Linked DNA regions of Homo sapiens: regions 2, 3, 4, 5 and 6 are each linked to region 1. Evidence: promoter capture Hi-C in 16 types of primary human blood cells and fetal thymus (Javierre and others, 2016). All regions are on one chromosome and are shown on one strand. The core of a region is centred on a gene start or on the middle of the fragment in contact, and the rest is flanking DNA. Distances in the headings are between cores, read along the strand shown.

Evidence for each region. Contacts are between HindIII fragments. The CHiCAGO score rates a contact against its expected background, and 5 or more counts as called.
Region 2: a fragment that was not itself captured here is called in contact with the fragment with the promoter of ATAD2B in region 1 in 1 of 17 cell types (neutrophils); the score reaches 6.0 in neutrophils.
Region 3: a fragment that was not itself captured here is called in contact with the fragment with the promoter of ATAD2B in region 1 in 4 of 17 cell types (non-activated CD4 T cells, naive CD8 T cells, total CD8 T cells and 1 more); the score reaches 7.3 in non-activated CD4 T cells.
Region 4: a fragment that was not itself captured here is called in contact with the fragment with the promoter of ATAD2B in region 1 in 1 of 17 cell types (non-activated CD4 T cells); the score reaches 8.7 in non-activated CD4 T cells.
Region 5: a fragment that was not itself captured here is called in contact with the fragment with the promoter of ATAD2B in region 1 in 1 of 17 cell types (erythroblasts); the score reaches 6.1 in erythroblasts.
Region 6: a contact is called between a fragment that was not itself captured here and the fragment with the promoter of ATAD2B in region 1, in 1 of 17 cell types (monocytes). The highest score is 5.3, in monocytes.

The regions. Positions count from the first base shown.
Region 1 is chr2:23,925,473-23,929,049 of GRCh38, forward strand. ATAD2B (ATPase family AAA domain containing 2B) reads right to left here and starts at 1,651. Exons shown (of 28, transcript NM_017552.4): 1 at 1,083-1,651. The coding sequence starts at 1,298. It also overlaps a transcript of UBXN2A not described here. RefSeq lists enhancers at 318-567, 666-1,584, 778-827, 1,585-2,501, 2,088-2,177 and silencers at 1,308-1,387, 1,588-1,917. The HindIII fragment of the contact is 2,488 bases long and covers 1-2,146 here.
Region 2 is chr2:27,066,288-27,069,881 of GRCh38, forward strand. It overlaps AGBL5 (AGBL carboxypeptidase 5), which reads left to right. Exons shown (of 15, transcript NM_021831.6): 12 at 1,207-1,359; 13 at 2,345-2,457; 14 at 3,286-3,419. Among named protein-coding and RNA genes, the nearest start is that of OST4, 3.6 kb to the right of the region's middle. The HindIII fragment of the contact is 904 bases long and covers 1,098-2,001 here.
Region 3 is chr2:27,633,032-27,636,725 of GRCh38, forward strand. It overlaps GPN1 (GPN-loop GTPase 1), which reads left to right. Exons shown (of 14, transcript NM_007266.4): 6 at 1,815-1,893; 7 at 2,109-2,203. Among named protein-coding and RNA genes, the nearest start is that of GPN1, 5.8 kb to the left of the region's middle. The HindIII fragment of the contact is 9,452 bases long and covers 1-3,694 here.
Region 4 is chr2:28,897,268-28,901,308 of GRCh38, forward strand. All of the region lies in intron 1 of WDR43 (WD repeat domain 43), which reads left to right. Among named protein-coding and RNA genes, the nearest start is that of WDR43, 4.6 kb to the left of the region's middle. The HindIII fragment of the contact is 264 bases long and covers 1,494-1,757 here.
Region 5 is chr2:20,346,412-20,349,947 of GRCh38, forward strand. All of the region lies in intron 1 of PUM2 (pumilio RNA binding family member 2), which reads right to left. Among named protein-coding and RNA genes, the nearest start is that of PUM2, 2.7 kb to the right of the region's middle. The HindIII fragment of the contact is 2,125 bases long and covers 1,084-3,208 here.
Region 6 is chr2:27,587,919-27,591,565 of GRCh38, forward strand. The region is part of intron 2 of ZNF512 (zinc finger protein 512); the gene reads left to right. Among named protein-coding and RNA genes, the nearest start is that of ZNF512, 6.7 kb to the left of the region's middle. The HindIII fragment of the contact is 934 bases long and covers 837-1,770 here.

The DNA of each region.
Region 1 (3,577 bases), core at 401-2,900:
CCCAATAAGAACCACAAAATGGTGTGGAATTAAAGGAGCATTTTAAATGAACAGCTTTTTCCAGCCAAATTACTTAGCAAGTCAACCTCTTTTAGACAGAAGCAATACACTCTTCTCTGAATTCAGAAACAATCTCATAGTAAAACAAACGTGTCAATTCCTTTAAAACAATAAATATCTGTGCTTAGCTTTATAATGTAGGTAATAAAATTTCAAGATCTTTCAATCAGTTTTTTAATTCAATCACCAGCGTCTTTAAATGTCATTTTTGCAACTGCATGACTATGGTGTTCATTCACCTTTTGTAATATAGTCCCATAACAAAAATGTAGACACCCAAGAAACCACACAGTTTTGGCATGATGGTGCTGACTATCCGAAACATTCCACTTGTTTCTTTCGACGTGCTCCTTCTGTGACCTGAAAGCTCTGGTTCCTACTAGCACCTTGGTGAGCTAGCTGGCTGGTTCCCCAGCTATAATATCATGTTTGATCTCTCCTGCCTGGAGAGGCGATAGCGTTGATTTTGTTTTTAAAGTTGGTGTCAGAGCAGCTACAAACTTTTTTCAGCATCCCTGCCTGGCTGCCAACTGGAGCTCTCTGTTCACTTCCTCACCAACTTGAACCACCCCCAAACTGAGAGTAAGCTGGAGTTAGACAGCGGCAGGAACTGACACACTTTCAAGAAGGGTTTGACACCGCAGAAAACTTTCACTTCTCCAACCCTTCCACCCAGGGGCTCTGGCCCTTCGCTCTTGCTTCCCCGCTAGAATTCCCCTCTGGGGCAGGACAAGGACACGGACAGCAGATCGTTCGAATGACGCCGAAAGGGACCCCCAAAGCCCTCTCCCCTGGACTCAAGGGCTGTTCTTCACACAAAAGAGCCGGGCCAGCTTGAAAAGCAAAGGGGCCAGCGTCGCGGCCCTTCTCTGGGTGCCACCCTCCACCGCGCCCGCAGACCCTGTCTCCAGCCGCCCGAGCGGTCTCCACTGTAGGCTTCCTACCCCCAACCCGGCCAGACAAAGCCCCGGCAGCAGGGCCGGCACTTCCGAGCCTCCGGACTCGGGACGCCGCGCTCTTACCCTGGCCTCATCCAGAGTGACGCCGGCGCCACCGCTTCCCCCGGCTTTGGCGGCGGGGCAGCTGGCGGCGCGGGTCTTGGAGGAGCGGGTCCGAGAGGAGATGAAATGGCTGCTGCCTCCGGTCGCCCCAGGCTCTGCTCCGGCCCCAGGCCCAGGCCCGGGACCAGGAGACTTGGACCCGAGAAGGCGGAGAGAGCTCTTCCGGGTGTTCACCATGGTCCAGCCAGGGGGACGGAGTCCACGCCGCGCCCGGGAGAGCCGAGCAAGGCCGGCCCGCCGGCCGGTCAGTCAGGGCCAGCGGAGCCGAGCCGGGCAATGAGAGACGAGCCGGCCCGGAGCGTGCGGAGCGCAGACGAGCACAAGAGAGAGCCGGGCAGAGGAAGGGAAGTCGGCGTGAGCAGGCGGCGTGCGGGAAGCGGGGGCGGTGCTGCAGACCGGCAGCACAGACACTCCGCCGGCTTCGCCCTCCTCAGCGGGAGCCGAGCGGAGCCGCCATTTCTACCCCTTTCTCTCCCGTTCTCGCTCTCGAGCTCCGTGCGTCAAGGCTCCAGCGCCGCAGGGCCAACGAGACCGCTTCCGGCCGCAGCCACGGCGGGGCGCTGCGAAGCCGGCCAGCCCTTCCCGGCTGCTCGCTCCTCTCCCTGCCGCCTCCAGCTGCCCCGCCCCCGGCGCGGCGTCAGCGCTCGGCGGCCGGGGAGCGACGCTCTAGGCTGTCAGCTCGGTGGTTTCCAGCTCTCCCCGACCGCAGGGCTGGGGCGACCAGAAAAGCCAGACTAATCAGGACGAGTTCGGGCGTGGAATTGGGCCTGAAGCCCTCATGCCCAGCCAGGCCTGAATGCCCCAGACCCCACCGTCACCCCCGTGGCCTGGATGGAGCAGGGGACGGCCGGCGAAGGCGCGGGGTGGAAGGGGAGCGGCGACGAAGGCGCGAGGAGCTGACTGGGAATCCCCAAGCTACCCGAGGCAAGACACTGAACTTGAGTCGCACTTTTCATGCCTGTAGAAATGAGAATGACAGCTGTGATAAAAAAAAAATTCATCTGGGCGGTATCTGGAACTTGGTAAGCTTAAGAAGAGAAGGGGGGGGGGAAACACCATGCTAGAACTCTGCGTTTTTAAACAAAGCGAGGCAGGGTCGTTTTCTATCCCCTTAGCCAGATCTAAGGCGGAGCCAAAGAATGAGTACCCTGTAAGAGCCGCCTCTATCGCCGCCCCCTGCCCCCGGCCCGCTGAAGAATTAAGAATACAAAAAGCTGAACCCACAGATAAAGCATTTGCAATTTAACTTCCAAAGAAAAAAAAATTAAGCCACACAATTCATATGAAAAGCTCTGCTGTAGGCCGGGTGCGGTGGCTCAAGCCTGTAATCCCAGTACTTTGGGAGGCCGGGGTGGGTGGATCACCTGAGGTCAAGAGTTCTAGATCAGCCTTACCAACATGGTGAAACCCTGTCTCCACTAAAAATACAAAAAATCGATGGGTGTTGTGGTGGGCACCTGTAATCCCAGCTGCTCGGGAAGCTGAGGCATGAGAACCACTTGAACCCAGAAGATGGAGGTTGCAGTGAGCCGAAATCACGCCACTGCACTCCAGCCTGGATGACAGAGCCAGACCCTGTCTCAGAAAAAAAAAAAAGAAGAAAGAGAGAGAGAAAGGAAGAAAGAAAGGAAAGAAAGAAAGAAAAAGAAAGAAAGAAAAGCTCTGCTGTAAAGTAGGAATTAGGTTCATTTCAAAAATTCACAGTACAGGCCGGGCTTACGCCTGTAATCCCAGCACTTTGGGAGGCCAAGGCGGGCGGATCACTTGAGGTCAGGAGTTCGAGACCAACCTGGCCAACATGGTGAAACCCCCTCTCTACTAAAAATACAAAAAATTAGCCAGGTGTCGTGGTGCATGCCTGTAATCCCAGCTACTTGAGAGGCTGAGGCAGGAGAATCGCTTGAACCCGGGAGGCAGAGATTGCAGTAAGCCAAGATCGTGCCACTGCACTCCAGCCTGGGTGACAGAATGAGACTCCATCTCAAAAAAAAAAAAATAAAATTCACAGTACATTAGACATAGCCTACTGTTTATTGGGCAGGAGTTTATTAAACTGTTTATTAAACTAAGAAAAATTGAAAACTCAGGAAAAGTCCTGAAAATGACCAAATGGCATCAAACTTAGAGCATTCTGGCCATCTAAGCTCCCAATCATTCCAAAAAACTGTACAACACTGGAAATGACAATTTTTTTTGTTTGGGAACCAGTATGGATTCCAGAATAGATAAATCCTTCTGACACAATTTGCATACCACATCCTCTCCTGGACACTTCACCTGCCACTTAGAGTTGATGTCTTAATGGGTGGGATTCCTCATAATGGAACCATACCTGGATTTTCCTGGGTCAAGTAGCTATCACATCACTGAGCAGCATAAACAAGTATCAATTCCTGTGGAAAGAGGCTGGTTTGGGCCAGGCACTGTAGCTCACACCTGTATTCTCAGCACTTGGA
Region 2 (3,594 bases), core at 300-2,799, 3.1 Mb after region 1:
TTGATTACACAAATGCAAATCTAAGAGAGGAATAGTAGAAAGATGAAACAAGGTTTCTAGCAGTTGGGTTTTGCATGAAGACAGGGAGAATGAAAGAAAGGGAGAGAATGAGTTTTGTTTTGTCAAGGGGACTTTCTTGGGAAAAAAATCTCCAGTGGACAATTAGAGCTGGATTTCAGGAGAAAAGGGCTACAGAGTGATTTGGGAGTTTAAGAGTAAGTAGAGCAGGAGAGGCCCAAGGACAGAATGGTGGGGAAGACTTGACATTTAAGGGGCAGGAAGAACAGCTGGAAGAGAAGCAATCAGTGGTAAGAGGGGAACCAAGGAAAGCTGTGTTAGCCAAGCTCAGTAACTTCTTTGCCAAAAGAATAAACTGGCCAGGTGCGGTGGCTCACACCTGTAATCCCAACACTTTGGGAGGCGGAGGTGGGTGGATCTCTTGAGCCTAGGAGTTCAAGACCAGCCTGGGCAACATGGCAAAACCCCGTCTCTACTAAAAATACAAAATTTAGGCTGGGCGCGGTGGCTCACACCTATCTGTAATCCCAGCACTGTGGGAAGCCAAGGCGGGTGGATCAGAAGGTCAGGGGTTTGAGACCACCCTGACCAACATGGTGAAACCCTGTCTCTACTAAAAATACAAAAATTAGCCAGGCATGGTGGCATGCGCCTGTAATCCCAGCTACTCGGGAGCCTGAGGCAGGAGAATCGCTTGAACCCGGGAGGCGGAGGTTGCAGTGAACCAAGATCGCACCACCACACTCCAGCCTGGGCAACAAAGCGAGACTCTGTCTCAAAAACAAAACAAAAAAAAAATTAGCTGAGCATGGTGGCGGGCACCTATAGTGCCAGCTGCTCAGGAGGCTAGGTGGGAGGATCACCTGAGCCTAGGAGGCTGAGGCTCGGTGAGCCATGATCGTGCCATTGTGCACTTCTTCAGCCTGGATGACAGAGTGGAAACCTTTAAAAAAAAAAAAAAAAAAAAAAACTAGCAGGATGAAGGCTGGTGGAGAATGGATAACTGTAATAAATAGTAGGTCTTTCTACCCATCTTATATTAATAGTTACTTCAGGAGAGGGATGTGGGTCTGATGACAAGCTTGAAAACTGGCATCTTTTGACCACGGAAGCCAGCAGGTCAGTGAAGGCTGCCTCATAGTGCCCCACTTATTTGCCCTTTTATCTGCTTGTATCTCTTCCACTCAGAGCCCCGAAGCCAGGACAGGAGACGGCAGCAGCAGCCCCTGAACCATCGTCCTGCAGGCAGCCTCGCTCCATCCCCAGCTCCTACTAGTTCTGGCCCAGCCTCCTCACACAAGCTGGGCTCCTGTCTACTGCCTGATTCATTCAACATACCAGGTCTGTACCCACTGCCACTGAAATCTGGGTTTGCCAGCCTCCTCCATGGCCAGGCCAGGTTCTTTAAGCCTAGTTGGGAGACCAGGGGCATCACTTATCCTCTTGGTATCCTAAACCTCTAACACTGGTGCCTTTGTATAGGAAGCTGGAATTTATTAATGTGTCTGTGTAATAAAACAATAGTTAACATTTACTGAACATTTACTATGTGCCAGGCACTGCTCTACACACTTAATCTCATTTTATCAGTTGAGGAACCTGAAGACTTTTGTCTACCTGCAAAATGCTACTTATGCAAATTCCCTGACTCCAGGAGCTGGGCAACACTAGACAAAACAGGAGAATGAAAAAAGCATGACGGTACTTTCTCCTGTCAACACTGCTAAATGCTGTGTGTAGCCGTATCATTCACACAAAGCCATCTCTTCTCCTTTAAATTATAGACCCAGCTATATAAAGAAAGGGATGGGAATGATTTTAAGACTCTAGTCCAACATGTTCTACCTCATTCAAAGACCCCTACTCCCAACCTGTCAACTCTCCTCAATGGGTAGCACTGAACCCACCAGTCCTGGGTAGAGCTGACTTGATCCTCAAATGCTAAACATATGATTGCGGCAGTATAAACTGACACAGGAGTTAAGCTTGGGTGCGTTCCGATTCTAGCCTGGAGTTGCTGCTCCACCCCTTGGACCACCAGACTAGAGCCTCAACCAGGGGTGATTTTGCTGCCAGGTGACATCAGGCAACATCTGGAGACATTTTTGGTTGTTACACTGAGGAGGGGGGAGATGAGGAAACAGCATAAATTGTTTAGAGGCTAGGGATGCTGCGAAACATCCTACAATGCACAAGACTACTCCCCACGATAAAGAATTATCCAACCCAAATTGTCAACGTGCCAAGGTTAAGAAACCCTGATCCTTTGGAAGTTACCTCCTCTTCTCTGTGACCCCTACCCTGATCAGTTTCCTCTGTTCCCTAGGGAGCAGTTGCTCACTCTTGTCCTCTGGAGACAAACCAGAGGCTGTCATGGTAATCGGGAAAGGTCTGCTAGGGACTGGAGCTCGGATGCCCTGCATCAAGACTCGATTGCAGGTAATATTTTTGGGTCTCCAGCATAGCTACTCTGGCAGAACCCAGCAAGGCACTGTTCCTCTGGGTAGTGGGAGGGAAAATGCTCAGCACTGCTTTACTGCATCTACCCTTGGCCACATCAGAGAGCTTCTCTGGTGCCTGAGTGCCTGTCTGTCCAGTCCCCTTCCTGCCCTCCACCATCCCCATCAGCCAGGTCATTTGCTTGCTTTCAACCTGTGTCCCTGCCAGATATACCCCAACCTTAGCCTGCTAGCTTTGGCTTTCCCTGCCCCTGCCCTTAGCTTCTCCTCTCTTTCTGCCCAGACCTGTCCGAGGAGAGTTTCCGCCAGGAGGGGTCCCGGATTCCCCAGGTAACACATTTGGTTGCTGCTGCTAGGAACAGCCCTGCCACCAACTCCGATTCAGTCCAGATCCCCATGCTAGGTAAAGCTGAGTATAGGCAGAGGCTGACTGGATGGGTGAAGTGTACACTGCTCTGGCAGGGGCTAAAGCATAGAGGGCTCTGAGAGAGGTCTACCAACCCTCCACTATCTTTCTACACAGTGTTTCTCTACTCACCCAGACCTTAGTCATGGTGTAGCCATGGCGGTTAAATGCTGGATCCGTTTGCCACCCCTAGTTATAGACTTGGAGTGCATAGTCATGGACTGAATCCAGGACTTCTCTGGCTATTATCTTGCCTCACCCTCTCAGCTAGAATTCAATGTCCCAGTACCTCTACTGATCCCTATACTACAACACTCTTATGCATGGAAACTCTAGAAGCAAACTAAAAGCAAAAAACTCATGGAAGAATCCAGCCTCTTAGCGCAAACCCTGTCCACACAGGCTAGGCCCAGGTTGGGCCGGGGCTCACCGCCGACTCGCAGAGGGATGAAAGGCTCTTCAGGCCCCACATCCCCTACCCCCCGGACCAGGGAGAGCAGTGAGCTGGAGCTGGGATCCTGCTCTGCTACACCAGGGTGAGCACTTGGGTCCAGTCCCTCACACCACCCCTCACTTCTGTCCCCTCATTCCCATTTCTGTCATTCAGAATAATTTTCTGCTTCCCTACTCCTTTTGAGCACAAAGACTAAATGTACTTCCATTAAGAATCTAGTCCCTGATTTTTTTTTCCCCCACCATGGCCAAGTCTTC
Region 3 (3,694 bases), core at 112-2,611, 3.7 Mb after region 1:
AAATTTTTTAATTTACAGAGTGTCAGAATAGGAAATATTTGTTCTTATGGCCATTACCCAGTTAGCTGTTGTTCAAGGTTTACTTTTTTTAAAAAAGATAATTTATTGTTTTATAAAAATTCAAACCATGCATGATATTTATAAGATGAAACCATCACCCCGATTCCCACTAGAAGTAACATCATCATTCAGCGACTAGCATTCCACATTTCTATATACACAGATAGAAGGATGAATGGATAAAAGTGCTTTTACAAAAATGGGGTACTAGAGGTAGCTTTTGTTTTGTTTTGAGACAGGGTCTTGCTCTGTCGCCCAGGCTGGAGTACAGTGTAGTGATCTCAGCTCACTGTAACTTCCACCTCCCTGGCTCAGGTGATCCTCCCACCTCAGCCTCCCAAGTAGCTGGGACTACAGGTGTGAGCCACCACACCTGGCTAATTTTTGTATTTTTGTATTTTTGGGATGGAGTCTCGCTCTATTGCCTAGGCTGGAGTGCAGTGGTGTGATCTTGGCTCACTGCAATCTTTGCATCCCGGGTTCAAGCGATTCTCCTGCCTCAGCCTCCTGAGTAGCTGGGATTACAGGTGGCCTGCTACCATGCCTGACTAATTTTTGTATTTTTAGTAGAGATGGGGTTTCACCATGTTGGCCAGACTGGTCTCAAACTCCTAACCTCAAGTGATCTGCCCGGCTTAACCTCCCAAAGTGCTGGAACTATAGGTGTGAGCCACTGAGCCTGGCCTGGAGGTATTTTTTTTTTTTTAATGACAGCTTTATTAAGATATAATTCATATACCATAAAGTTCACTCGTTTAAAGTGTATGGTTGTTTTAGTCTGTCCACAGAGTCGTGTGTTGATAATTACTATCTTCAGAATATTTTTGTCATCCTGAAAAGAAACCCCATACTCATTACCAATCACTCCTTATTTTCTGTTCCCTTTAGCCCCTAGTGACTACCCCATTTTCCATTCCCATTGGCAATATGATTTCTCCACAACCAGTTCCTCCATAACCTTGCCAACTTTTGTTATTCTTCTTGTTTTTGATTATAGCCATTCTAGTGGATATAGAGTGGTATCTCATTGTGGTTTTTACTTTTATTTTCTTAATAACTAATGATATTGAACATCTTTTTAATGTACTTATTGGCCATTGGTATGTATATATTTAGAGAAATGTCTATTAGAATTCTTTGCCAATTAAAAAAATTCTGATATAATTCATAATTATATCAAATTAATTCACAAAAAAGTTGATATAGTTCATAAAAACAGCTTTATTGAGATAATTCACATACCATACAATTCACCCATTTAAGGTATACAATTCAGTGGCTTTTAGTATATTCACAGAATTGTACAACTATCACCACAGTCAATTTTAGAATATTTTCATCATCTCAAGAAGTAACCTGATATTCTTCAGCTAGCACTTTCCCATTCCTCCCATTCTTCTTCCTCTGTTCCACACTCACCCCCGCCCTAAGCAACCAGATGTTTCCCAAGAGATTTACATTCTGGTTTTGTGTCTTTCATTTTAAATGCATTGTGTTTCTATAAAAGTTTCCCCTGTGATCATTTGCAGCAACTCATGGTCTGCTGTTCCTGCCCATTGGCGTGAATATTGGTCATTGAACAAAGTCTAGGGGATCATCATGTGCAGTTTAGGGCCAGTAGGAGGAAGTTAGATTTGGCAGTGTGCAGAGGTTACTCCAGTCTTGGATAACCAGATGTTTATTGTCTTATATGATGGAATATCCTTCAGCATAACACAAATGTAACACTTCTTTAATGATCTTTCTTGACATAGATATGTGTTGATTGACACACCTGGACAGATTGAGGTATTCACCTGGTCAGCTTCTGGGACAATTATCACTGAAGCCCTTGTGAGTATTCTAGGACTTGCTACTGAGAGTAGCTAGAGGGGCTAGACTGGATGAGCATTTATTTTTAATTGCCTTGGACTTTATATGGGAGGAAGTTGTAGAAGCTCTGCACACCCTGCCTAAAGTGGTTTTCCCTTGTTAAGGATGGTGGAAAAAGAGTTTGAGGACAGATCGTGAGCCCTCTGACCAAGGCTTTGATTTTTTTGTGGCTTTAGGCATCCTCATTTCCAACAGTTGTCATCTATGTAATGGACACATCGAGAAGTACCAACCCAGTGACCTTCATGTCCAACATGCTCTATGCCTGCAGGTAATTGATTGTTGGTGGGGAAAGTGTTCCATCAAGGTATAAGGCCTTTTTCTCTTCTTCTTCCTCTTTTTTTTTTTTTTTTGAATCTGGTTGCTTACCCCTGGATTTGTGCTCATTCAGATTTGCTGTTCAGTTGAGTGGCTGTGAGCTGGGGAAGGTCAGAGGAGAAAAGAGGCACATGTGCTGTTGGCATTCTCTCTCAATACCCTCTGATCTTCCTCCCTTGTTGTTACAAAAAGGTGATGTATGAATATGAACTGTCTGATAGTTGTTCCCAGTTGGATAAAATCCAAGTTTAAAGATAAAGTCCTCTGGGCTGGGTCTGTCATCCCTACACTTGGGAGGCCAAGGTGGGAGGATCGTTTGAGCTTGGGAGTTTGAAACCAGGCTGGGGAACATAGCAAGACTCTGTCTCTACAAAAAATGTTTTAAAATTAGCCAGCGTGGTGGCACGCCCTTGTAGTCCCAGCTACTTGGGAGGCTGACGTGGGAGGATTGCTTGAGCTCAGGTGGTTGAGGCTGTAGTGAGCCATGATTGTGCCACTGCACTCCGGCTTGGGGCAACAAGAGCCTGGGGCAACGAGAGAGAGAGAGAAGAATAGAGTCCTCTGGCCTAAATGATGCTGGTAGAGTGAAATTGTAACATGAGGAGATACCATGAATAAGAAGATTTATCCATAATTGTAAAATGCACAGGTGGCCAGGCATGGTGGCTCATGCCTATAATCCCAGCACTTGGGGAGGCTGTGGTGGGAGGATCGCCTGAGCCCAGGAGTTTGAGACCAGCCTGGGCACCATGGTGAAACCCCATCTCTACAAAATATACAAAAAATTAGCCAGGGATGGTGGTGTGTGCCTGTAATCCCCGCTACCTGGGAGGCAGAGGTGGAAGGATTGCTTGAGCCTGGGAGGCCAAGGTTGGAGTGAGCTGTGATGATGTCACTGTACTCCAGGCTGGGCAACAGAGTGAGACCCTGTCTCAAAAAAATAAAATGCACTGGTTTGCCCCAAATGTGGCACCATTAGCAGAGGAAGGGCATGCCTCACTAGATTAGTGCATTAAGACTGAGGAGCAAGGCTGACAGTTATTAAAGCTGAGAGAATTTAATTTTGAGGGTACACAAATGCCATCACCAACATTTGTCTTTTCTGATATGACAAGGGATGTCCCTTTTTGGTGGATGCAAGAAATTGTGATCCAAATAGAAATCTGAAGATTGACAGCATTATTTCATTTTCATATTAATTATTTATTTATTTATTTATTTATATTTTTTCGAGACGGAGTCTTGCTCTGTCACCCAGGCTGGAGTACAGTGGCACAATCTCACCGTACTGCAATTTCCGCCTACTGGGTTCAGGTGATTCTCCTGCCTCAGCTTCCTGAGTAGTCACCACACTTGGCTAATTTTGTATTTTTAGTAGAGTCGGGGTTTCACCTTGTTGGCCAGGCTGGTCTCAAACTCCTGACCTCAAGTGATCTGCCCGCCT
Region 4 (4,041 bases), core at 376-2,875, 5.0 Mb after region 1:
ATGTACTGTAACAAGATATCTTAGAAAAAAAAGGCACATGTTAAGGTGCTCTCATCTTATTAAACCCTTCCTTTTATTTTACATCTTTGAGGCTTAGTGTATGAGGCATGAAAAGGATGTTGCTCTGAACCCACTTTCCAGCATTTTGTTAAGGTCCTGCTATATGATGACATATAGTACTCTCAAATTTGAAATAGAGGTATCATCACCCACCTTTTAGGATCCTCAGGATCAAATTAGGCAATGTATGTGACTGGTGTAGTATGGCCTAGTATGTAATAAGTGGCTTAATAAATGTTATTATTGAGTGAATCTGGACTCGTTTTACCATTTAATTTGGCATTTAATATGGTAAATCAATTTGTAAGAAAAGTATTCTATGTTTGGTTTAGTAATTGGCAGTTTGCTACGCAAGGACAAAGTGTGGTGATGATAACTCATCAATGGAGAAAGATTAGTTAGTGCTGGGTTTCTTGGGTAACGGGTTAAGTTTGTGGTTCACAGGTGTTTAGAAAAATTAGATTGTCACCTCTTGTTGGTCACAGAATGATTACAATACTTTGCATTCGTGCCACAATAGTTTTTAGAGGGTTTTTGTACGTTATGTAGCTGAGCATTCCATTTGGTCTTTGGAGCCTGGGGGAAGAGGACCTTTAATGAGGACAAGAAGATAGGAAAGTGCAAAAATACAAATGGAGGGACTCTATCTAGATGGATGCTGTTTTTAAGAGTTCCTCAAGTTTATGTGTGTAAACTGAGGCAGAAATGTTAATTATATTCTCTACCAAAGCCACATAGTAAAGTGACTGAGCCACCTAGGAACTGATGCTGCTATTTGATTGTCTTCAAACTTTTGAAAGTCTTCCGACTTTTCTGCTTTTCCTTCTCTAACAGACCTTGTCTGCTATTGGCTATCACAGTAAATGTGTTTATACTGCTTTGCTGTCACTGCAATTAAGATGACCCTATACAGCTTAGTACTTGTTGAATGAAGCACATGGCATTTCAGACATTGGACAGGGTGTCTGAGTTGGGTATCTGCATTACCATCCCTTAGAGATGTAGGGCAGTTCACATGTGCTGTGCAGTGGTCTGTCTTGAGGTCTTGCTAACAGTTAAACTTCCTAAGAAGTAAAGGTTGCAGATAGATCTGATTGGCAGAAATAGAAGTTTCTGTGTATTAGGACTTAATTGATTTGTTATAAATACTGTATGTGATTTTTTGTAAAATGAATACATTTTGTTCACTGTTATCTGTGAAACACACATGCAGTGGCAGTGAGATAGATGAAGAAATGGATTAGGAGACTAATTGCAGAATGAAACTTGAAACTTGGCATACTTTTTGGTGTCTAGAGTTCAGTATTTCTCAGAGCAGATTTTGATCCATTAGTGGATTATGTAATAAACTTAGTGGATTGTAACATTAAAAAAAAAACAAAATAGAATGGAAAGTATCAGAGTACTACTAGCCGTGGGAAGTTTCTCTGTGAAGCTTGTTTCTATATGTGTATTTTTATGAGAGTGTAGTGACTGCATGTAAAACTCCTCTTTTTCTGGGATTTTAGTCTAAAAAGTCATTACTTTAATTGCTGTACAAATTCAGACTTCTCATCACCTGAATGTGCTTTTTTCTGTCTTCATCCCATCTGTACAACTCCTTGCTTTTATAAATTATGCACATGTGCCATTCAGATTCTCCCTCAGCCTTCTGATTGTTTCTGGATCAAATGCTGATGATGGATCAAATGCTGATAAGCTTTTCTCATAAGACAGGTTTCAGTATTCGTTGCTTAACTCAGTTTGCCCTTCATGGTGGAAAAGACTCCTTAGTCCGAGAAATCACCTCCTTGGGGTATTCACTTCTGATGCCTTCAGGAATTGAGATTTTCCAGTTACAAATATATAAACTAAATTTTTTAGCCTACCTTTTTATTACTTAATATATTTATCTGTATAATCTGTGCTGGGCACTTAAGAGGAAACACAACTGACTGTGACTAAAGTGTAAAAGAAGAAATACATTTCATATTTGCCGTGTCTAATGCAGGGTATGACATGTGTCTTAAGGGAAAGAAGTTTCCGTGGAGGAGGTGGTATTTGAGGTGGGCCTTAAAGCATGGATAGGATTTTTAACCAATGAAAATTGAGGTGAGTAGGAAAGGTCCCCTTCCAAGTGAAGGAAAAGCAAAAGCAAAATAGGAAAATGGGTGTATAGGGAGTGTTAACCTAAGGATGGAATTGGAGATAAGACTAGAGAAGGTGGGTTGAAGGCAAATTGTGGATGCTTTTAAATGCCATAGAACTGTTTATATTGATTTATTCTCTGGAGAGTCATTGAAGTTTTTTTGATCACAGGAATAACATGTTTAGATAGTAAATGCCAACAGAAGTTTCTCATCTATAATCAGTAGCACTAAACTCTTGGTTTGAAAAATATTTAGTATGGGTAATACTTGGAGTATCAGTTTTCATTAAAATGTACATTGGTTATATACACTTCTGGTCTGATGTGTTACCTTTTTAAATATGCTTATCCTGCTGAATAAAGACCATCCAACCTGAAAAATAAATGAGTCCTGAGTTCTTTAAGTTCAATAAATTGGAGTAATATTTAGGTTTAGACCAGTTATCCTTAAAGTTGGTCATAAATGCTGTAGATATTCCTTCCGCCTGCCCCTGCTTGCTTCTACCAAAAAATACAGAGATTTGCAGATGCAGAAATTAAGGCTTTGACTATGTTATGCTTGACATAGGCTATGTAAATTTCTAAAATTTCTTTGTGCTTTTTAATGGAAATTCAAATTGGCAATAAAGCATACGCATATTTGGACCTGTCTTTGTTTCACACATCGAGAAACTTCCATTTAGATAGTTTTTATTTGGGAAAACCAAGAGTAGAAGAAAGATTTCATGGAATCTTTTTTTCGTTTTGTTTTGTTTGAGATGAGTCTCTGTCGCCCAGGCTGGAGTGTAGTGGCAGGATCTCGGCTCACTGCAACCTCTGCCTCCCGGGTTCAAGCAATTCTCTGCCACCTGAGTAGTTGGGATTACTAGCGCCCACCACCACGCCCGGCTAATTTTTTTTGTATTTTTAGTAGAGACGGGGTTTCACCATGTTGGCCAGGCTGGTCTTGAACTCCTGACCTCGTGATCCACCTGCCTCAGCCTCCCAAAGTGCTGGGATTACAGGCGTGAGCCACCACACTCAGCCTTCTTGGAATCTTTTTAAAAAGATGAATCTTTTCCTGCTGAGATGGTACTAGGTTAATGTACTTCCCCCAACTCTCCTTGCCTGAAATAGGTGTTTGTATTTATAACCTTATACAGAAATTATTTTTGCCCCTGGAATCATTCAAAGGTAGCTTTAGAAATTCATGTAACTGAAACGGGGACCTAGAACACTCCTAAAATTGAGGTTTCAATGTTTCAACAAGTTAAATGAGACCATCAGACTTTGTACTTTGGCTTTTAATTGTAACTTCTCTTTTGTGTTTATTAGTACATTTCTAAGGACTTGCAAGATATATTTCTAAGGACTTGCAAGATGTGTATTATTTTTTTCTGTAAGTAGGTTACCTTTTTTTGTTAGACTGCATTTCATCTGTGTCCAATGAATCAAATTCTTTAAATGTAAAATCCCCCTAGGATAACTAAAAGAAAAAAATGGAAAGTGCTTTTTAAGTCTACTCCCTGACACTCTTTATGCACTGGTAACGTTGTGGTTGTCATTGGTTTTTCTTGAATTAAGACAGATTTTTAGGTGTCTTGGGCTGTGTGCATGCCCATGCGTGCTGTAGAGCTAAGATCCTGCACTATTAAGAAGATATTCTCTTTTCTATGGTATTGGCTTGTTTTACAGTGAAAGAATGGATTTCTCAGAACTTTATGCTAAAAACATATAGGCTGGTGAGCCGTAATTTAAAAAAACACGGAAGAGAAGTTCTGAAATCATAATAAATACTCAGCATTATAAACTGATGTAGTGCTTTTAAGTTAGGGTCATTGTCTTTTTGTTGGGAAGACATGAGCTGTTAACAT
Region 5 (3,536 bases), core at 896-3,395, 3.6 Mb before region 1:
ATTTTTTTCTTCCTACAGTTTGCTTCATTTGACTGCCTAATAAAGACCTATACTTAGGGGCACTCTCCCTCTAACACTCATTTGCCTTATTTCATGTCTGAATGAATAAGACCAATTGCATCTTTCTCTCACTGATCTTAAGTTTTTCAGAAACTGCCTAAAGTCAGGGATCACCACTTTGAGATCCAGAACTTCTTACTCTTGTCATAAGATGGCTACTACAATAAGATAGATCAAAGAGCTGTCCTCAAACCAGGTTTCCTCCATTAGTGTATTTTTCCCCAGAACTAAAAAAATGTAAATAATCCTTCCCTACCGCCCCGCCATGACCACATTGTATGTGTGTTGGCAGCCAGCTACAGGTTCCATTTCCCTGGGCAGTACTGACTAAGTGGTTTTGAGTACAATTTCATAGCCAATTGTACCAAGTCCCTTCCAGGAAACATTTTAGGGGGCTTCTGTGGTCCCAACATATTTAGCTCCAAATAGGTGATGACTACCTTTTTTTTCCTGTCCCATTTGCAGTCAATCAAACCATCTAACACTTCAATTACCTCCCTTCTCCTTTTACACTTCATGCTACTTCTTTTTTTGCACTTGCCAGCTACAGTGATATGCATACAAGGTGTGTACATTTTGATATTTCCCAGTACTCTATTCTAAAATCTTTTATTCCTCCACAAGAGAACAGTGAGAGAGTAAGATGTGAAAATCAACAATATGCAATACGCAACCTGAAAATGGTTGGGATCCAGTAGCTAAACTTGCAGAATGGAACTTACTAATGAAACTATGCTTTTGCCAACAGCTTAAATAAACAATCTGTTTAAAAATTCTCTAAAGCACTTAAGACCATAAAAAGGAACCAGCCAAAGGTCAAATAAAACTTTTAATATTTGTGTTTAATTAGGCGTGTCTTGATTTTTCATTTAAAAAGATAACTCTCGAGTTATTTGAAGAAAAAGTCACTAAGGAAAAAAAACACTAACATGTCTCTAAACATAATGCTACATGAAACTCAAAGAAAAAGCATTTATCACGCACCTACCTAATAATTCTATACAGCGTTTCACTCACTGGAAAAGCTTGAAAATAGAAAACTTCCACTTTTTCAACTACAAAAGCAATTAAGTTTTAAATAAAAACTGTCTCCTGTCTATATATATTGCCAAATATAAAAATCACTATTAAAATATTAGCTCCTAAATGATAGGGTTTGAGGAAACCTTTTTCCACAACAGAATTCCGAACTGACTGAAAGACACAGTAGTTGGACTTGTGTTAATCCAAAGATTTCCTTTACTACTGATAAAACCACAGTGGAGGCATAATTTAGACCTAGGCCAAGTGGGCTTCCAAACACACTCCATAATTATTCTAACCCAGTCACAAGTAGCACTGGACAACTACTGTCCTCTGGAAATGGGGAGTCTAACTTTGGTAGTCACATGAAAAAGCAGGGCAAATTAAGTGCTTTCTGCAGGGAGAAGACTCCCAGAGAGAAAGCGAGGAAGGGGCTCTGCCATATTTCATCAGCGTTCCCTCTTACAAACTCATCAAAGCGAAGTGAGGAGGCAGGACAAAACGAACAAGTCAGACTATTTTAATGCATTTCCTAAAAACAGCAAGGGTCTGGCACCGGGGCTCATGCTTTTAATACCAACATTTTGGGAGGCCAAGGCGGGAGAACTGCTTGAGCCCAGGAGTTTGAGACCAGCCTGGGCAACACAGCAAGACCTCACCTATATTAAAAATTAATAATAATAATAATAATAATAAAGAAAAAAAGCAAGAAATCTTAATATGCCACAGACCAATTTACCTGGCTATAAGTGTAATTTTTATCTTAATCACACCTGTTAGTAAAATGGTCTCAAGCTGTGATTGCAGCCATGTAGACAAAGCCATGTGAGACTCAAATATTCGGATATTTTAAATATCTGTAAATTTTAAGAATATGAAAAAATACAAGTATTTCCATATCCTGGAAACCCAACAAGGTATTTAAGTTAGGACGTATGTAGAACTTGAGTTTAGGAGACAGGAATCAACCTCCACTTAAAACTATGCAGATCATGTTAGGGTCTATAAAAAGGAGACAGCTTGGTCACTGAGAAAATTGGCTGTGGATTTCACACCTGGCCCAAATCTCTGGTCATAATTACTTTTGTTAACTAAGATAAGTACCTACTCCGGAAGGCAAATTATCTTTCCACACCAGAAAGGTTTATAAACAAGCCGGGTGTGGTGGCTCACGCCTGTAATCCCGGCACTCTGGGAGGGCGAGGCGGGAGGATCGCTTGAGATCGGAGTTCAGCCCAGGAAACACAGTGAGACCCTGTCTCTACAAAAAATGCAAAAATTAGCCGGGCGTGGTGGCGTGCGCCTGTACCCCCAGCTACAGTTACTCGGAAGGCTCAGGTGGAAGAACAGTTGCAGCCCGGGACGCGGAGGCTGCAGTGAGCCCAGATCTCACCACCTGCACTGCAGTCTGGGCGACAGAACCAGACCCTGTCTCAAACAAGAAAAAAAGATTCATAAACAAGTATGGAATGCTTGAGAGAAACAAAATCCAAGTATTATTTGGTAATTTATATACAGTATTTGTAATGCCTGAGAATTTATTCTAAAGTGACAGCTTTGTAAGAGCAAAGTAAATGTCAGTAATTAATTTAGGCTCTTTTAAAAAGTTGAAATCTTGCTAAATGCTGAAACACCTAAGAGAACTTTGGACTCAAATTAAGGAAAGCATGTGTTAAACACAGCTTAAATTGCTGGAAAATGCGTAAGTTACTGGCAATTATAACTCAAAATAGCTAGACCTGTAAACAAAATTTAAAAACTGGACTTAAATCCTCAAGAACCAGGTTTCTGAAATAAAATTTTATTTTTAAGATTATCGTAAACCTTTTCTGCATACAAAAACTGCCCTCATGCACACCAAGAAAATTCTACACAATGCAATTTCACCAAAAATCGGAATTTTAAAGAAATTCTTGCAGCACGGAAAATGCCATCATTTTTATTCATAATGATTGAGCAAATGAAGTAAATCATTGTTTAAAAGGAGGCTAGGAAGAGAAACAAGTTGAAAATACTCATTTTTGTTTTTTTTTTTTTATTTACAGGATTCCTTAAGTCATCTTCCAATACTCCAGGTCACATGGTGAAGAGTCACCTGTTAAACACGAAATCTAACCATTAAACAAGCTTTTAAAATCCTTCGGTAACTCCCTTTATTAAAATTGTTTTCTTGACATACAGTACCTTTACAGGTATTACATTTCTCTTCACCGTTTACAAGCATTTTTCTCATGTTTTCCTTCACCAAAACATCTGCCCCGTTTTCTCAACAAGTAAAAATCTCAAAGTACTAAGTCCTAACATGATGTCTTATTGCACCTAATATGCTGGCAATACATTCCTCTCTTCAAAAGTTTACGTATGTTAGAATAAAAAGCTAAGTTAAGTAGGTTTTCTCTGGCTGTGTTTTCAGAAACAACACTAACTTTTACACGTGTTTGGGCATGAAACTT
Region 6 (3,647 bases), core at 54-2,553, 3.7 Mb after region 1:
ATCTGCCCACCTTTGCCTCCCAAAGTGCTGGGATTAACGGTGTGAGCCACCGCGCCCAGCCTTCATCTGTTCCTATTCTTATTGGCCATTTGTGTGTCTACTTTTGTAAAATGTTTACATTTTTGTCCATTAAAAAAAGTGGGTTATCTTATTGAATTGTGGTATTTAAAAAAATCTGTCCTGAATACAACTCGTTTGTCTGTTATACTTCCTTCCAGTCTGGTTTGTCTTTCATTTTCTTAATGATGTCTTTTGAAGAGCAAAAGGTTTAAATTTATCATTTTTTTCTTACATTTCATGCTTTTATGTATCCTATTTAAGAAACCTTTGCCTCCCTGGAGGTCGTAGCGAGTCAAGGTGGTGCCACTGCACTCCAGCCTGGGCGACAGAGCGAGATTCCGTCTTAAGAAATAATAATAATTAAAAAAAAGAAACTTTTGCCTCCCTAATTGCAGAGATTTTCTGTGGTCTTTTCTCCTAGAAGTTTTATAGGTTTTATATTTAGGTCTGTGACTCATTTAGAGTTAATTTCTGTGAATGTTTTATGGTAAGGGTCAATGTTGACTTTTTTTTCTATTTATATACCCAGTTGTTGGAAAGAGTTTTCTTTCCCTACTGAATTGCCTTGGCATCTTTGTCAAACTTCACTTGGACATGTATATGTGTAGGTCTGTTTCTGGACTCTCCTTATTCTGTTCTACTGATGTTTATTTAGACTCTTGAAATCAGTAAGTCCTCTAACTTTAGTGTTCTTTTTCAAAATTGTTTTGGTTATTCTCAGTTCTTTGCGTTTTTATAAGAAGTATAGAATTGGGTTGCCAATATCTATTAAAAGAAGCTTGCTGAGTATTGATTGGTATTATATTGAATCTATAGATTCCGTTGGGGAAAATTGCTATTTTAACAATATTGAGTTTTCTGATTTATGAACATGCTATATTTTCCCCTTTAAGTCTTCTTAATTACTCTCAGCAATGTGTTGTAGTTTCATTGTTTTTAAAAGTCTGGAACGTCTTTTGTTAGGTTTGTTCCCAGGTATATTATGTTTTACTGATGTAATTGTAAATGGTATTATTTTTATAATGTCATTTTCTAGTTGATTGTTGCTAGTATATAAGTATTCAGTTGACTTTGTATGTTATCCTTGTATCCTGACACTTTATAAATTAATTTATTAGTTCTAGTAATTGTTTTGTAGATTCCTTGGGATTTATTTTGTAAACAATCATATAATCTGCAAGTAGGGACAGTTTTGCTTTTTTCCTTTTGATCTTGTTTTAAACCTATTGCAATGGCATTCAGCAGTGAAACTACATGGGCCTGTAGTTTTCACTGTGGGAAGGATTTCATAAATTCAGTTTATTTAATAGATATAGGGCTACTTAGATTTCCAGTTTCTTCTTGTGTCAGTTTTGGTAAGTAGTATTTTTAAAGAAATTTGTTCATTGTAATTTTTCCATTGATTAGCATAAAGTTATTCAAAGTATATTATTACTTAATGTCTACATAATCTGCGGTAACCCCTTTTTCATTTGTGATATTGGCTATTTGTAGTGTCTTTTTTTGTAGATCAGTCTAAGTCTAGCTACAGGGTTGTCAATTTTGTGATCATTTCAAAGAACCACATTTCCCCTATTGTCTGTTTTCTAGTTCATGGGTTTCTCCTCTTACCTTACCTTTTCTTTGGTTTACTTTGCTTTTCCTTTTAAGGTATCTTAAGATGAAATCTTAAGTCATTGATTTTAGATCGTTTCTAGTATAAGCATTTAAAGCTTTAAGTTTCTAAGTATTGCTTTAGTTGCATCCTACAAATGTTGATATGCATATTTTTGTTGTTTTTCAGTGCAAAATATTTTCAAATTTCATTTGTGATTTCATTTTGGACCTATGAATTATTTAGAAGTAGATTATTTAATTTGCAGATATTTGGATTTTTTGTGTTTTTTGTTTTTAGATATCTTCCTATTATTGACTCCTAAGTTGATACCAATGTGGTCAGAGAATACACTGTGTAATTCTCATCCTTTTAATAAAAGTTAAAGTTGATGGCCCAGCGTAAGATCTAGCTTAATGAATGCATAATGTGCACTTGAAAAGAATATATATCCTGCAGTTGTTAGATGTAGTGTTGTGTAAATGTTAACTAGAGCAAGGTGGCTAATAGTGCAGTTCAGATCATTTATGTCTTTTACTGAATTTTTATCTAGTTCTATCAGTTGCTGAAAGGGGGAGGTCTTAAATTTTCTGCTAAGATTGTGGAATTGTCTATTTTTCCCTTTAATTTTGTCAGTTTTCGCTTTGTGTATTTTGAGGCTCTATTATTAGGCACATACAGTGGGTAATTATGCCTTCCCAATGATTTGACACTTTTGTCATTATGAAGTGTCTCTTTTTATCTCTGGCAGTACTCTTTGTCTTGAAGTCTGTTTTATCTGATATTAAAATAGTCATTCCAGCCTTATGTTTGCTGATTGTATGATACAATTTTTTCATCTGTTTATTTTCAATCTATAGATGTCTTTATATTTTAGAGTGTGCTTCTTGTAGGTAGCATGTAGTAGGGTATCACTTTTTATTTTACTCTGTCATTTGCTGACTTTTAACTGGAGTGTTTAGACTGTAAACATTTAAATTAATTATTGATATGGTTGGATAGGTCTGCCCTTTTATTTTTTGTTCTCTGTTTATCCATTGTTTTTTGTTCCTGTGTTTCTTCTTTTGGATTATTTGAATGCTTAGTGTCTGCCCCTACTCTTGTTTTTTTAAGAGACAGTGTCTTGCTCTGTTGCCCAGGCTGGAGTTGGTGGCACATTCATTGCTTGCTGGGCTGAAGTGATCCTCCCACCTCAGCCTCCCAAGTAGCTGAGATTACAGAGGTGTGAGCCATCTACCCCGGCCTGTTTACCATTTCTGTTGCTCTTTCTTCATTCTTAAAAATCCAAGTTTCTCTCTGGTATTATTTTTCTTCAGCTGGAATCATTTGTTTTAGCATTTCATATGGAGCAGGTCTGCTTACAATGAATTCTCTTAGTTTTATTTCTTAGGATATTTTCACTGAATATAGAATTCTGAGTTGACAAATTTTTTCTCTCAAAATTTTAAAGATATTTCTTTTTCCTTTTCTTTTTTCTTTTTAGAGACAGGGTCTCACTCTGTTGCCAAGGCTGAAGCGCAGTGGTGCGGTCATAGCTCACTGAAGCCTCAAATTCCTCAGCTCAAGGGATCCTCTCACTTTAGCCTCCCAAGTAGCTGGGACTATAGTTGCATGGCACCACACCTGGATAATTGCTTTAAAATTTTTTTATTTTTATTTTTGTGGGTACATAGTAAGGATATATATTTATGTGGTACATGAGATGTTTTGATACAGGCATACAATGTGAAATCACATCATGGGGAATGGGATATCCATCCCCTCAAGCATTTATCCTTTGTGTTATAGACAATCCAATTACACTCTTTTAGTTATTTAAAAATGTACAATTAAGTTCTTAAAATTATTATTATTATTATTTTGAGACAGAGTCTCGCTCTGTCACCAGGCTGGAGCACAGTGGTGTATCTTGGCTCACTGCAACCTCCGCCTCCCGGGTTCAAGCATTTCTCCTGCCTCAGCCTCCCGAGTAGCTGGGACTACAGGCGCATGC